3 separate regions of the Homo sapiens genome follow, and all the other regions are linked to region 2. The links are contacts of gene promoters, found by promoter capture Hi-C in blood cells and fetal thymus (Javierre and others, 2016). All regions are on one chromosome and are shown on one strand. Each heading gives the region's core, a stretch centred on a gene start or on the middle of the fragment in contact. The rest is flanking DNA. Distances are from core to core; before and after follow the strand shown. Region 1 holds the start of SNX5 (sorting nexin 5). Region 2 holds the start of RTF2 (replication termination factor 2). Region 3 holds the start of LINC01431 (long intergenic non-protein coding RNA 1431).

Evidence for each region. The method cuts DNA at HindIII sites, captures the fragments that hold promoters and counts their contacts. A CHiCAGO score of 5 or more calls a contact.
Region 1: the fragment with the promoter of SNX5 here is called in contact with the fragment with the promoter of RTF2 in region 2 in 1 of 17 cell types (total CD4 T cells); the score reaches 6.4 in total CD4 T cells.
Region 3: the fragment with the promoter of LINC01431 here is called in contact with the fragment with the promoter of RTF2 in region 2 in 1 of 17 cell types (total CD4 T cells); the score reaches 9.4 in total CD4 T cells.

The regions. Positions count from the first base shown.
Region 1 is chr20:17,967,307-17,971,237 of GRCh38, forward strand. It overlaps SNX5 (sorting nexin 5), which reads right to left and starts at 1,488. Exons shown (of 13, transcript NM_014426.4): 1 at 1,069-1,488. The coding sequence starts at 1,119. MGME1 (mitochondrial genome maintenance exonuclease 1) reads left to right here and starts at 1,712. Exons shown (of 5, transcript NM_052865.4): 1 at 1,712-1,835; 2 at 2,495-3,064. The coding sequence starts at 2,554. RefSeq lists enhancers at 201-955, 817-866, 917-1,086, 956-1,710, 1,327-1,636 and 3 more and a silencer at 1,117-1,326. The HindIII fragment of the contact is 5,200 bases long and covers 1-3,760 here.
Region 2 is chr20:56,465,816-56,469,913 of GRCh38, forward strand. It overlaps RTF2 (replication termination factor 2), which reads left to right and starts at 2,812. Exons shown (of 9, transcript NM_016407.5): 1 at 2,812-2,951. The coding sequence starts at 2,883. The HindIII fragment of the contact is 9,363 bases long and covers 1,823-4,098 here.
Region 3 is chr20:23,355,954-23,359,977 of GRCh38, forward strand. LINC01431 (long intergenic non-protein coding RNA 1431) reads right to left here and starts at 2,174. Exons shown (of 3, transcript NR_109884.1): 1 at 2,002-2,174; 2 at 1,098-1,184; 3 at 641-1,016. RefSeq lists enhancers at 1,600-1,689, 1,880-2,269 and a silencer at 2,320-2,509. The HindIII fragment of the contact is 4,137 bases long and covers 1,158-4,024 here.

The DNA.
Region 1 (3,931 bases), core at 238-2,737, about 38 Mb before region 2:
TCAAGTTTCCACTTTGTTTTAGTAATAAAGAACTTTCAAAAAAAAAACCACTCTAAACAACACCCTCCTGTATAGAAAGCTCTATTTTAATAATTAATGCAATGATACCCTTGTTGGAACAATCCAGCCGCTTTGAAACTCTGGTATTTACTTACTAGATGAACAAGTTTCTCTATGGAGGTGCCTTTAACTTCTCAAGAAATGTGTAAGTTAAGACGGCTCCAAATTACATTTTAAGAGAGCCTTGTATTTTTAGAGGTTCTTTTTCATCGGTCAGAAAAACTTACGTTGACGATTCTGCAAGAAAGGTTGCTCGCAAACCATGCATCGCAAAGCTACCGAGGCAAATTTAAAGAACCAATGAAAAAGAGTGGAGGCTCGTCTGAATCTTTAATTGGCTATGGGAATTTCAATTTATTGCATAAATAATCTTTTAGACCTCAAGATACACGTGACCTAGGGACAGTTTACATCAATGGGCAAGACTTAAAAATAGACACCAAGTTCAGCAAGTATTTGAGCACCTACTAAAAATTACACAACTCCCACAACAACGCATTTTGCGTTTCTAAAGTTGTAAGCAGCATGTTCGGACGCTTGATGCAATTTCCCAAGTTGTTTGGGCCCCCCCCCCAAAAAAGTCTTCTCAGTAAAAGGTGGGGGGAAGGAGGGTATTTTGGGGGCAACAAACCAAACTGGTCTGTCGCATGTTAAGTCAATTTCACGTTCACCTACTGGTCACCACGAAGCCGAGGAAAGTTTTAAAAAGAACATTCCGGGGTCTCCAGAGATCATCTCTCCAAGTCCGCTCGGCACCGGCGCCTGAGCTGGGGCTAAGGTCCCGCGTCTCTGGTTCTGTCCTAATAGAATCCGGGACATCCACAGGGATTCCCCGGGGCAGCCTTCAGTGAAGACCAGGGAGAGGGGCCGCCCGGGTCTCACGGGTGCTTCCCGCGCTGGGGATGGCGGCGAGCAGCCACGGCCTATGGACGCGCAAGGGAAAGAATGCAGCGACCCCGGAGCTCGCAGGGCCGCCCGCCCAGGAGTCTGAGGCTGGGAGGACCTCACCTTGCTGCGGTCCTCCTCCTGCTGCTGCAGCAACTCGGGAACCGCGGCCATGGCGACGCGGGACTCGAGCAGGGGCCGCCTGGCTGTGCGAGGAAAGAAGAAGCTGGGCCGCCGCCGCCGCCGCCTGGGCGCCTCTCGGGGGCGGCCACGGCCCCGCCTCCGCCGGCCTCCCTGCCCGACGGCGGCAGGAGGCCTCCGGACTCCGCCACCATCCCAGCTGCCCCGGGAGCAGGCGAGCAGGGCGCCACGTGCTCCCCCAGAGCAGCCTCCCAGTCCCCGCTGCCGTCCATCTTGGAGCCGGGCAAAGACGCCACGTGGGGCCTACCCTTGCTCCGCTCCACGAGGAGGCCGCCAACCGCAGGGCCGCGACACGGACGGGAAGCAACGGACACTCTCCCAGCAAGACGCGTCTAGAGAAAGACCGCGTTTCGGTGCGGGGGGAATTTATTACTCAGCCCGAGTCCAAGATGGCAGCGAGCGCTGACGTCACCAGATCTCGTGAGAGCAGAAGGGCGCGATTTGGAGGCTCCCGCGCTTCGGAGACGCCGGCCCTTCCGCTCGGAGAGGTACTCCCTGCCTCTAACTGGTGGCGCGTTGGCGGAGGCCGACGAAAGCCTCGGGTGGGGCGTGAGCGCCGCGGGGCATTCTGGACCTGCTTTGCCTTAGGCTGTGCCTAATTCGAAACCAAAGCGCGGGACGGATGAAAGTACGGGTCGCGAGAGGTTGTTCGCGCCTTGAGAGTTAAGCGAAGTGTGGTGGCTTCCAAGGTACCGACACTTGCCGTAGGCTGGGCTTTTATTTAAGTCGTCTTTTCTCTAATCCAGACTCCTGCCACAGGGGCCACCGCCGTCCTGGCCCCGCCAGGGGTCCGCACCCACGGCGGAGCGGGAGGCGACTTTTTGCGGTCACAGTAATGGGACCTCAGCGCCGCCACCAGCTCTGACCGGCGAGCGACGGGACCCTCCAACCCGATTTCCACGTCTGTGCAACGGGTTCATTCTAGACCCACGGTAGAGGGTGTGAGGACCAAATGAGAAGTATCCACACAGAATACTTAGCAGAGAGCCTGGTGTCTAGGAATTAGTCGTCGTCTGTCACCTAGGACTGTGTGGCCGCCATGGGACGGGCTCCATCTTTGTGTTTTTCCGTGTCTCGCACACGCCTCCCTTCCTGGGCGTCACATTCCTGCAGATTAGAAACTGGGACGTCTTGCCTCAAGCTGTCTACTAATTCGCATTTAGTATGTGTCGGTCCTTCGGGTATTGAGTCTTGATTTATTTATAAATTTTTTTTGGAGGCAGGGTCTCGCTCTGTCGACTTTCTTAAGAAAGGGCTCTGTCCAAACATGTCGAAAAAGTTCACAATTTTGATGTGCAATATCATTCTGATGCAGCTTTCGCTTTGATGGTTGTTTTCTCTCCAATAGGAATACAAACATAAAGGCCTTCGACCGTTGCAAATAGACTAAAGTGAAAACAAATCTGAATGAAGATGAAGTTATTTCAGACCATTTGCAGGCAGCTCAGGAGTTCAAAGTTTTCTGTGGAATCAGCTGCCCTTGTGGCTTTCTCTACTTCCTCTTACTCATGTGGCCGGAAGAAAAAAGTGAACCCATATGAAGAAGTGGACCAAGAAAAATACTCTAATTTAGTTCAGTCTGTCTTGTCATCCAGAGGCGTCGCCCAGACCCCGGGATCGGTGGAGGAAGATGCTTTGCTCTGTGGACCCGTGAGCAAGCATAAGCTGCCAAACCAAGGTGAGGACAGACGAGTGCCACAAAACTGGTTTCCTATCTTCAATCCAGAGAGAAGTGATAAACCAAATGCAAGTGATCCTTCAGTTCCTTTGAAAATCCCCTTGCAAAGGAATGTGATACCAAGTGTGACCCGAGTCCTTCAGCAGACCATGACAAAACAACAGGTTTTCTTGTTGGAGAGGTGGAAACAGCGGATGATTCTGGAACTGGGAGAAGATGGCTTTAAAGAATACACTTCAAGTAATTATCTCAATTCTGATTCTATATGTTTGCTATGTTTTCTATAATAGAGAGCAACGGTGTCAAAAGAATGAGGTTTGGTTTTGTTTTTTTAACTTACTAGCAAGGAACTCCCTTCAGATAGTAATTAACATTAAATAGCACTTTATGTGTATTAACTCACTTGATCCTCATGGTAGTCCTGTGGAGTATAGATACTGTTATCCACATTTTACAGATGAAACTAAAATAGATCAAATATTTGACTAAATAATACATAAAATTCACTTGTTTTATAAGCTACCAACAATATTAGAATTGCTTGTTTTCCTTGATTATTGAAAAAAGTCACCTGGTAACAGAATTCTAGTTGTTTGCTAGATAATTCTGTTTAGAATCCAGTAAATACCCACTGTCCTACTTATTAGCGTAAACTGACTCGTAAATTTAAAGACCTTGAAGCAGACCAGAACACATGACCTATATTTAGACCTTGGTAAACATAATCAGAGGTTCTTCATAAGGATCTGAGGATAAATACACTTTAACCTTCAACTTCTAATTTACTAACTTGGACAAGTGAGGAGAATAGCTTCCTTAAATTTAATATTCCATTCAAAAACAAAGACCATTGGCACTGGTGAATTAGCTAGTCCCATAAATTATATAGGGGTCTTTTGTTAAAGGAAAGTTTCACATCAATCATTCCTTTACCCAAGCTTCCCAAAGTGCAGTACATGTACTCTTAGTAGTACACAAACTCTTTCATTTTTGTTTTAAGAATAGTGTACTGACCCTTGCCATAGCCTGGGCTTCTATTTAAGTCGTCTTTTCCCTAATCCAGACTCCTAAAACTATGCGTGTAACACATTAAACATGTCACATGTT
Region 2 (4,098 bases), core at 1,562-4,061:
GTTTTACTAGAGGGTAATGATTTTCCTTTTTATCATTTCATTCCTCTGCTTCCCCAAAAATCCATGGCTTGGCTAGGACAAAGTTGTCTCCGAAGATGCTTGTAAGGGAATAACCTTTATTAGTTCATTCAACAAGGCAGTGGAAGAAGAAGCAGACAATGATGACATCTGCTTCCCAGTAGAGCCGGGAGAATAAAACGGCTCAAGTCCAATAAAGCGCTGAACACAGCACCTGACATGGCAGCCAGCTCTCAACACATATTTGCTACCAATGATAATAAACCTCACAAAAGTTCTAGCTGCGTATAGTCTGAGGCACAGAGTAGCCTAGAGACCAATATTCTAAAAGAGGAAACCAATGAGGAAGAGAAAAAAGTCCAGCTGCCTGAGCTAGAACACCAGCACAGCCGGTACTGCTGGGTTTTATCAGCAGCATTTGGGGAAGCAGTTAAGTCAGACGGGCCTCATCGGAGACAGCCCCTCATCTTATACTCCTTTTACTCAGCAGCTATGAGACTCTGAACAAAGACAACTTGCACATCTGAGTCTTGGGGTTTTCATTTGTAAAACAAGAGGGATTATACCTTCTAACTCTTAAGGTTATTGTGAGCCCAAAGTGAAAAAATGCCTACAAATCTCTCAGTGCACGCATGGTCATGGCTTAATAAAGAGCCGCTATTTTTGTTTTTTCTTCCCCAAATGAGAAAAGAACACTGGTTTGAGTCTTTCTAAAGATGCTGGTGTTTCTGCTCTTCTGTATTTGACTTTCTTTCCTTTGCTGTGAGAAAGAACTAATCCTAGCACTCATTCCCGGGTCTCTCACTGCCTATGTGACCTTGAAGGAGTCATTTGATCTTTCCACGCTTCTGTTTCCTCACCAGTAAATGGAATTCTAATAGTACTAACCAGTTTTAGTATCTGCCAAAACTAGGCTTTTCACCCCTTTCTCAATGAATCTGTACTTTCTTTTGGTTTACTGAGGAAATGTACTCATATATTGAGTGTGCCAAAGACTCTTCTAGGCACTGATGATACAATGTGGAATAAAAGTCCTGGCCGGGCTTGGTGGCTCACGGCTGTAATCCCAGCACTTTGGGAGGCCGAGGCAGGTGGATCACCTGAGATCAGGAGTTTGAGACCAGCCTGGCCATCACGGTGAAGCCCCGTCTCTACTAAAAATACAAAAATTAGCCCAGCATGGTGGCGGGCGCCTGTAATCTCAGCGACTGGGGAGGCTGAAGCAGGAGAATCGCTTTGATCCTGGGAGGTTGAGGTTGCAGTGAGCCGAGATCACATCACTGCACTCCAGTCTGGGCAACAGATCGAGACTCTGTCTAAAACAAAACAAAACAAAATGAAGTCCCTACCCTCATAGAGCTTACAGTTATTGTGGTTAGCATAGAAATAAATCATAAATCAATCAGAGACCAACTAATTAAAGGGATTATTTTTTAAAATTCTCATTAATCACAGTAACAAGTACCCCAAGCTTACATATAGCCCTTGAAGTTTCCACATCCACGTATTTTCTGGGCAACTCTTCCCAAGTAAAAAATATTTTCAGCGTTTTTATGTTTCACGTAGGTCAATAGGGTAATATCCAATCATAAAGATCTGCCTTCTTGGCAATGGAGAAATTTTCCCATCATATATATGTACAAATACATACATACATACATACATACATATTAATGACAGAGTCTTGCTCTGTTGCCTAGGCTGGAGTGCAGTGGCATAATCATAAGCTCACTGCAACCTTGAATTCCTGGGCTCAGGCAATCCTTCCTACCCCCTCAGCCTCCGGAGCCGCTAGGACTACAAAAGCTTACCACAACGCCTGGCTAATTTTTCTTTTTCTTTCAAGATGGTGTCTCACCATGTTGTCCAGGCTGACCTGGAACTCCTGGGCTCAGGTGCTCCTCCCGTCTCGGCCTCCCAAAGTGCTGGGATTATAGGCACTTTCCCATAATATTTATAATAATTAAAGGAACAAACAGAGAGATAGACAATCGCCTAAGAGCAGACAGACAATCATGAATTTTTAGCAAGGGATTTGTGTTCTTATAGATAAAATACAGCCTGACTCTTGGAACGGGCATGGCAACATCAGTGTATATTTTATAAGAACTATTATATCGTCTATTAATGATACTTGATTGTTAATAAAATTTTTTTAGCCTGGGCTTCAGGAAACTGTGAATGAAATACACACACGCACAAACTGTATGCAAAATTTCACACACATGCCATCTACAATATGCATGGCAACACCAGAAAGTTCCAGGCCTTAAGGGAGGGTCTTACTTCCTAGAATCTGTTGTAACATCACTTCACAAGATTTGTTGTGAGTGCTTGAGTCACAGTTGGCGCTCAAGAAAGATGCGTTCTCCTTTTAAACACAAAAATGTCCATTGATACAGCAGATTCCGTTCATAGGCATCCTTAATCGCAGAAACAGGAGGGCGGCCCTTTTCCTCAAGGCGCTCTCAGTCCAGGGATGTGCCCGCTCCGCAGCCACACAAGCTGGCGTGGGATAGGGTCAAAGAGCGGTGGATGCGCACGGGCCGCCCACGCCCTCGCTGCCCTCCCGGAGCGTGGGCGAGTGATTCCGATTGTGCAGCAGAAACCCAGGGTCTCACGGGAACGAGGAAACCCGCCCACGCCCAGCCTCCAAGCGACGCTCTCCATGACAACCGGCACTTGGTAACGGCCTCGCCCTGCCCCGCTACGCCGCGCCTAGCGTGCCGCCCCGCCCCGCCCCGCTACGCCACGACCAGCGTGCTGCGTCACGGCGGTGCGCCGGAAGTGGCTGCGGATTTCGCCGGAAATCCCGGAAGTGACAGCTTTGGGGGTTTGCTGCTGGCTCTGACTCCCGTCCTGCGATGGGTTGCGACGGGGGAACAATCCCCAAGAGGCATGAACTGGTGAAGGGGCCGAAGAAGGTTGAGAAGGTCAGTGATGTGGGCCGGCTCTTGGCGACCGGGGGTGGTGGGAATTTGACGACCCCAGAAAACGAGAGGAAGTAAGAAGGGGGAGCCAGCGGAGTTCCAGACCTGGCTGCGGTCTTTTATTCCATTCAGAGGACTCAAAATTAACAACAGTATTAAGAGTGGACATTCAATGGGTGCTGACTATTGCCATTCACTGGACAGTAATCTTAACAGGGGGTATCTCATGTAATTATCACAATAGCCCTATAGCTACATACTGTTGTCCTCATTTTCAGACATGGAAGTTGAGGCTCAAAAGGAGAAATTTGCAAAGCTAGTAAATGGCAGAGCCAGGATTTGAACCCTACCTGCGACTAGTAGCAATAATACAAATACCTAGTGTATACTGAGTTTTGTATACACTAACTTCATTTGCTCAGAGAAGCCTTCCCAAACTGTTCCCTTACCACATCCTTTTATAAACTGTCTTAGCCTGCACACGGCTGTACGTGGTTGATTTGTATCAAGTCTTCCCCGCTAGACGGTAAGTTCCTGATAGCAGAGGCTGTACCCTTTTTTTCTCTGCAACTAGCATGGTTCCTGGCACACTAAATATTTCGAATAAACAAATGAGTGAATAATCCCTGATCTCACAAGTAATCGAGGAAATTATAATAATTTCTTTGCTACTGACGGGGACATTGAGTCCAGGGATATTAAGGTGACTAAGATCACACAGCTGGTAGGTAGTGAAGCCAGGATTCCCATCCACTTATTTGGGATTTCAAAGTTAGCACAAGTAATTACTTTTTAATGATAAAATATTTGTAAAGCACCTAGTAGAGACTTCTTTACAAAAATATTTGTAAAGCACACGTGGAGACTTCATGTATTCTGATTCAGGAGCTGGAGAGCTTGTTTAAAAGGTAAACCCCTTAAGTCACTATTGTATTTGAAGCATTCCAGTGGCTTCCCATCACATTAAGAATAAAATCTCGTCAGACCCTTGAGCAGACCTTGCCTATGTTTCTGACCTCATCTTCTGCCCCTCTCCACCTCTTTCATACTGTTCTAGCTAAACAGGCCTCTTGTTCTTCAACCTGGAGTGTGAGTTCATCAATCTGAAATACTCTTCACTGAGATTGTCACATGATGAGTTTCTTTACTT
Region 3 (4,024 bases), core at 924-3,423, about 33 Mb before region 2:
ATGCTGACCTGACCACGGGCTCTGGCTCAGTCTTGGCCAAGAGAACAGCTCAGCCATACCCTAGACGTAGGATAGTGCTGAGCTAAAAGGAGCCTAGGTCCCATGTGGAAACACCAAAATAGCCCCAGCTCACTCAACCAAAGACTTCTTTTTAAATGAGAAATCCCATCTTAAGCCATTATCAATTTGGGGTGTGTGACACTGACACACAGCAGTAATCCTAAGTGAGGAAAAGGATTTGAATGGGGCAGACTGTATTCACTACAGGGCCCAGAAGACGCGGGGACGGCCCCAACTACTGCCCTTCAGGTCCGGGCCAGACCCGCAATGGGCAGGATGGGTAGGGTACAGGGCGTGCGTCCCCACCTACACTAGCCTGGTTGCAGGCGGCCTCCAAGGGCACAGCGGGAAGCTCCGCCCTTGCCATGCCCCCGCCACCGGGGAAGGCAAGACAAATGTGCGTGGCACCCTCCTCCTTCGGTTCTGGGACACATCTCCACCAAGCGGCCGTTCGGCAGGTAGGGCCAGATGGTCCCGGCTCGTCCCTGCGGGTGGGGTTTCCCACCGGCGGAAAGCGCAAGCCCCTCCCGTTCTGTCCAGCGCGCTGCCCGCTGCCTTAATTATAAGGCAGATGAAGGTGAAAAGTTTACTGGTTTTTATTTTTGCAACTTTTTGTAAATTTTAAATTATTCTAAAAAGTTTAAGAAATGAATTGTGCTGAGGAGTATAATCAGCACGCAGTGCGAGTTCTTATAGTGGCCACGTCCACAAACCCTGTGTTGTGGAAGAACAGAAGGCGTTCTGCTTTCTGTGTTTCACCGTCTCTCCCTCGCTTTAACTTCCAGGTCCCGGAGTAGTGGTGACAGCAAGGTCTGTTGGTTTCTTTGGTTTAGGTTTGATGAAAGGCCACTCCAGTGGGGTAGGAGGTGGGCAGGGAGAACAGGGGCTAGGGTGGGAGGGGCAGGAGTTGGGTCCTGGGGGTGGAGGAGATGACGGGGAGAGTGGCTTGGAGAAATCTGCAAGAAGAGACATTGGAAGGCCGGGGGAGGTGAAATGGACACTGGGTGAAGCTGAGGAGTCCTAGTGAACCATGTTACCTCTGATCCAGATATTCCCAGAACAACAAGAAATCAAGCTTCTGAATGTGGTCTGTTGCAAGCTTGGAAGGTGCACACCTGTTGCTGCTAATTTGGACAATTTGGGGGAAGAGCAGAGATTTAGATGTTGCTTTGGTCGACCTTAAACACCAGCCCTGTCTCCCCTACCACTTTGCCAAATTAGGGCCCCGTCTCTCTAAAGAGCAAACAGAAAACTGCAGAAAGTTGCTTTGTCCTGTAGACAAGAGGCTGGGACTAGGTAAGAGGAGGGAGCCAGGATGCAAAACTTAAGACCAGCCTGGCCAACAAGGCGAAACCCCGTTTCTACTAAAAATAGAAAAATTAGCTGGGCGTGGTGGCAGGCGCCTGTAATCCCAGCTACTCAGGAAGCTGAGGCAGGACAATCGCTTGAACCCAGGAGGCGGAGGTTGTAGTCAGCCAAGATCGCGCCACTGCATTCCAGTCTGGGCGACAGAGCGAGACTCCGTAACAAAAAACAAACAAACAAACAAAAAATCTTAAACATCACCAACGAGCCTTGTGAGAAATGGTTTAACGTTGTGATACCTTGCCCAATTTTAAGGCAGGTAAAGGTGTGTGTTAAAACTCAACTCTTGAACTGAACCCCAGCTGCCCTTTAGGGCATGCTTAATTTGATGTGGACTGTAACCTCTTTTGCAGCATTGTAGAGATTTGGAATCTGCACATTAGGAAGAGACCCCACGAGGCGGTGGCGTTCTTTCTCGTTCGGAGCTCACACCCCTCCTGGGGAGCCCTCTCCCAACCCGGGCTCCCGGTAAGCGCGGTCGCCGCTCCTCTGAGGGCTGCTCTTCCCTCGCTTCTGAGCCGAGGCCCCCGCGACACGAACGCCACGCCCGAAGCGCTCTTGCCAGGACGTACTGACCGAGGGTAGGCTGCCCAGCCGGGTGGTAACGTTGAGGAAAGGACAGCAGCTTCGCAAAGGAGCTGGGTAAAACCACGCCCAGACCCCGCTGGCCACCAGCCCGAGACCAAGACGCAGGCGGTGGCGCCGGTTTCTCACTCAACCGCAGGTTCCAGCATCCCCGATACGGCCGACGTCATTACCCTGCGACCGCTCAGGACACTTCTGAGGACTCTTTTGACAGCTAGTAATCGCGCGGTGGCGCGACCACGTGACTCCGGCGCCCTAGCCCCGCCCTCCGTCTCCAAGGAGCCCTGGAAGGAGCTATACCAGCGGCTCCAGAAGGCGGGGAGAGGCGGGGCCGGACTCCGGGACAGCCAATGGGCGAGGAGTGCCGCCCAGCCTGACCCACCGGCCGCTCCCTCACGAGCCTGTGGGCGTGCGCCGGCTGTGCAGGTGAGGGGCAGCGAGGGCGCCTAGTGGGCAGGGCGCCGGCGTTGCGCGTGCGTCAGTGTTCTTCCTTGTGCAGTTTAGAATTTGATACATTTCTTTCCAGTCTATTTCTATAGATTTGTTTTCAAATCACATCAGACCCTATGTAAAATAGTGTACCGTCTTTACTCATTATAACATGGTGAGCATTTCCCCAAGCTATTACACATATTTTTAAACATTGTTTTAATGACCGGCATAATAATCCAGTGCTTGGATATATCAAATTCTTCGGCCATCTCCTTATAGGTGAGATTGTTTCCAAAGTTTCACTAATGTAAGTGCACTGCAGTGAACGCCCTTACGTAACAATTGTTCACTCCCGTGTACTTTTCTCGTGCAGAGTTCTACAGCATGAAACACTATATTTAACTTTGTCAGGTTGATGTTTATCAGTGGTTTATTATTGTTTTTATAGTATTCCATTGTCAGTGAAGTATGCCATTCACACTGTCAAGTGAATTGTCTATTTGTATTATTTAAAAAAAAGATCACAAACATAGAAAGGAGAGCTTTATTTCTTTAAACGGTGATAACCTGCAAGGTGGCCCTTCTGACAGGCTGGGAAGCATAGCTTCTGGCAGAAGCTCAAAAGGCAGGCAGCTGGAGGGAAGGGGGCCTAAGACAGGAATTTAAGCTGAAGGACTTAGCCAAGTACACATATGAACAGGCCACAGGAAGAGCTATGAATATTCATGAAACGGGTCCTGACCCATGCTTACTGGACAAACGTGCATGTTACAGGTGACCTATGTTTACTTTGGGGTGGACTCTTAGCATTTACAGGTATTCATGTATTACATTTAGACCCTATAAGTTGAAAGATCTTTTCAGGACACCGATGCACTTGTGTGCAGCCTCTGTAAACCGCCAGAATCAGCCCCTGTTCGGTTGTTTCCCATCAGGAAAAAGTTACTGCAGTCAGTCTCTGGTCCAATCAAAGCAGTAATTATTTGTGGAAGTGGTGGGGCTGGGGCAGGGGGCGTGTCAGTCAGCATGTGGAGGTGGATGAAAAGCACATTGTTTGAATATTGCTTATCTAGAGGCCAGTGCTTGTTTGGCTGCCAGAGAATAAAAACCTTGTGGCAGTTAAGGCATAGTTTCTTCTTGAAGTGTAGAGGTGCATGACAACCCTTGCCAGGCATGGCCCTTCATTCTTTATCATTTAGTATTGCCACAAAGAGTCTGTGAGTCTTATGACCTCTATTTTTAAAGCTATTAAGACACTCAACTAAAGCAATCCTTTCAGTATTGAATGGATAAGCTAGCATTATGTTATGCTAGCTAACATAATCGGAGACGGAGTCTCATTCTATTGCCCAGGCTGGAGTGCAATGGCATGATCGAAGCTCACTGCAACCTCCATCTCCTGGGTTCAAGTGATTCTCCTGCCTCAGCCTCCTGAGCATCTGGGATTACAAGTGCCTGTCACCACTCCCGGCTAATTTGGTTTTGTTTTTTTGAGACAGAGTTTTCCTCTGTTGCCCAGGCTGGAATGCAGTGGTGCAATCTCCGCTCACTGCAACCTCTGCCTCCCATGTTCAAGCGATTC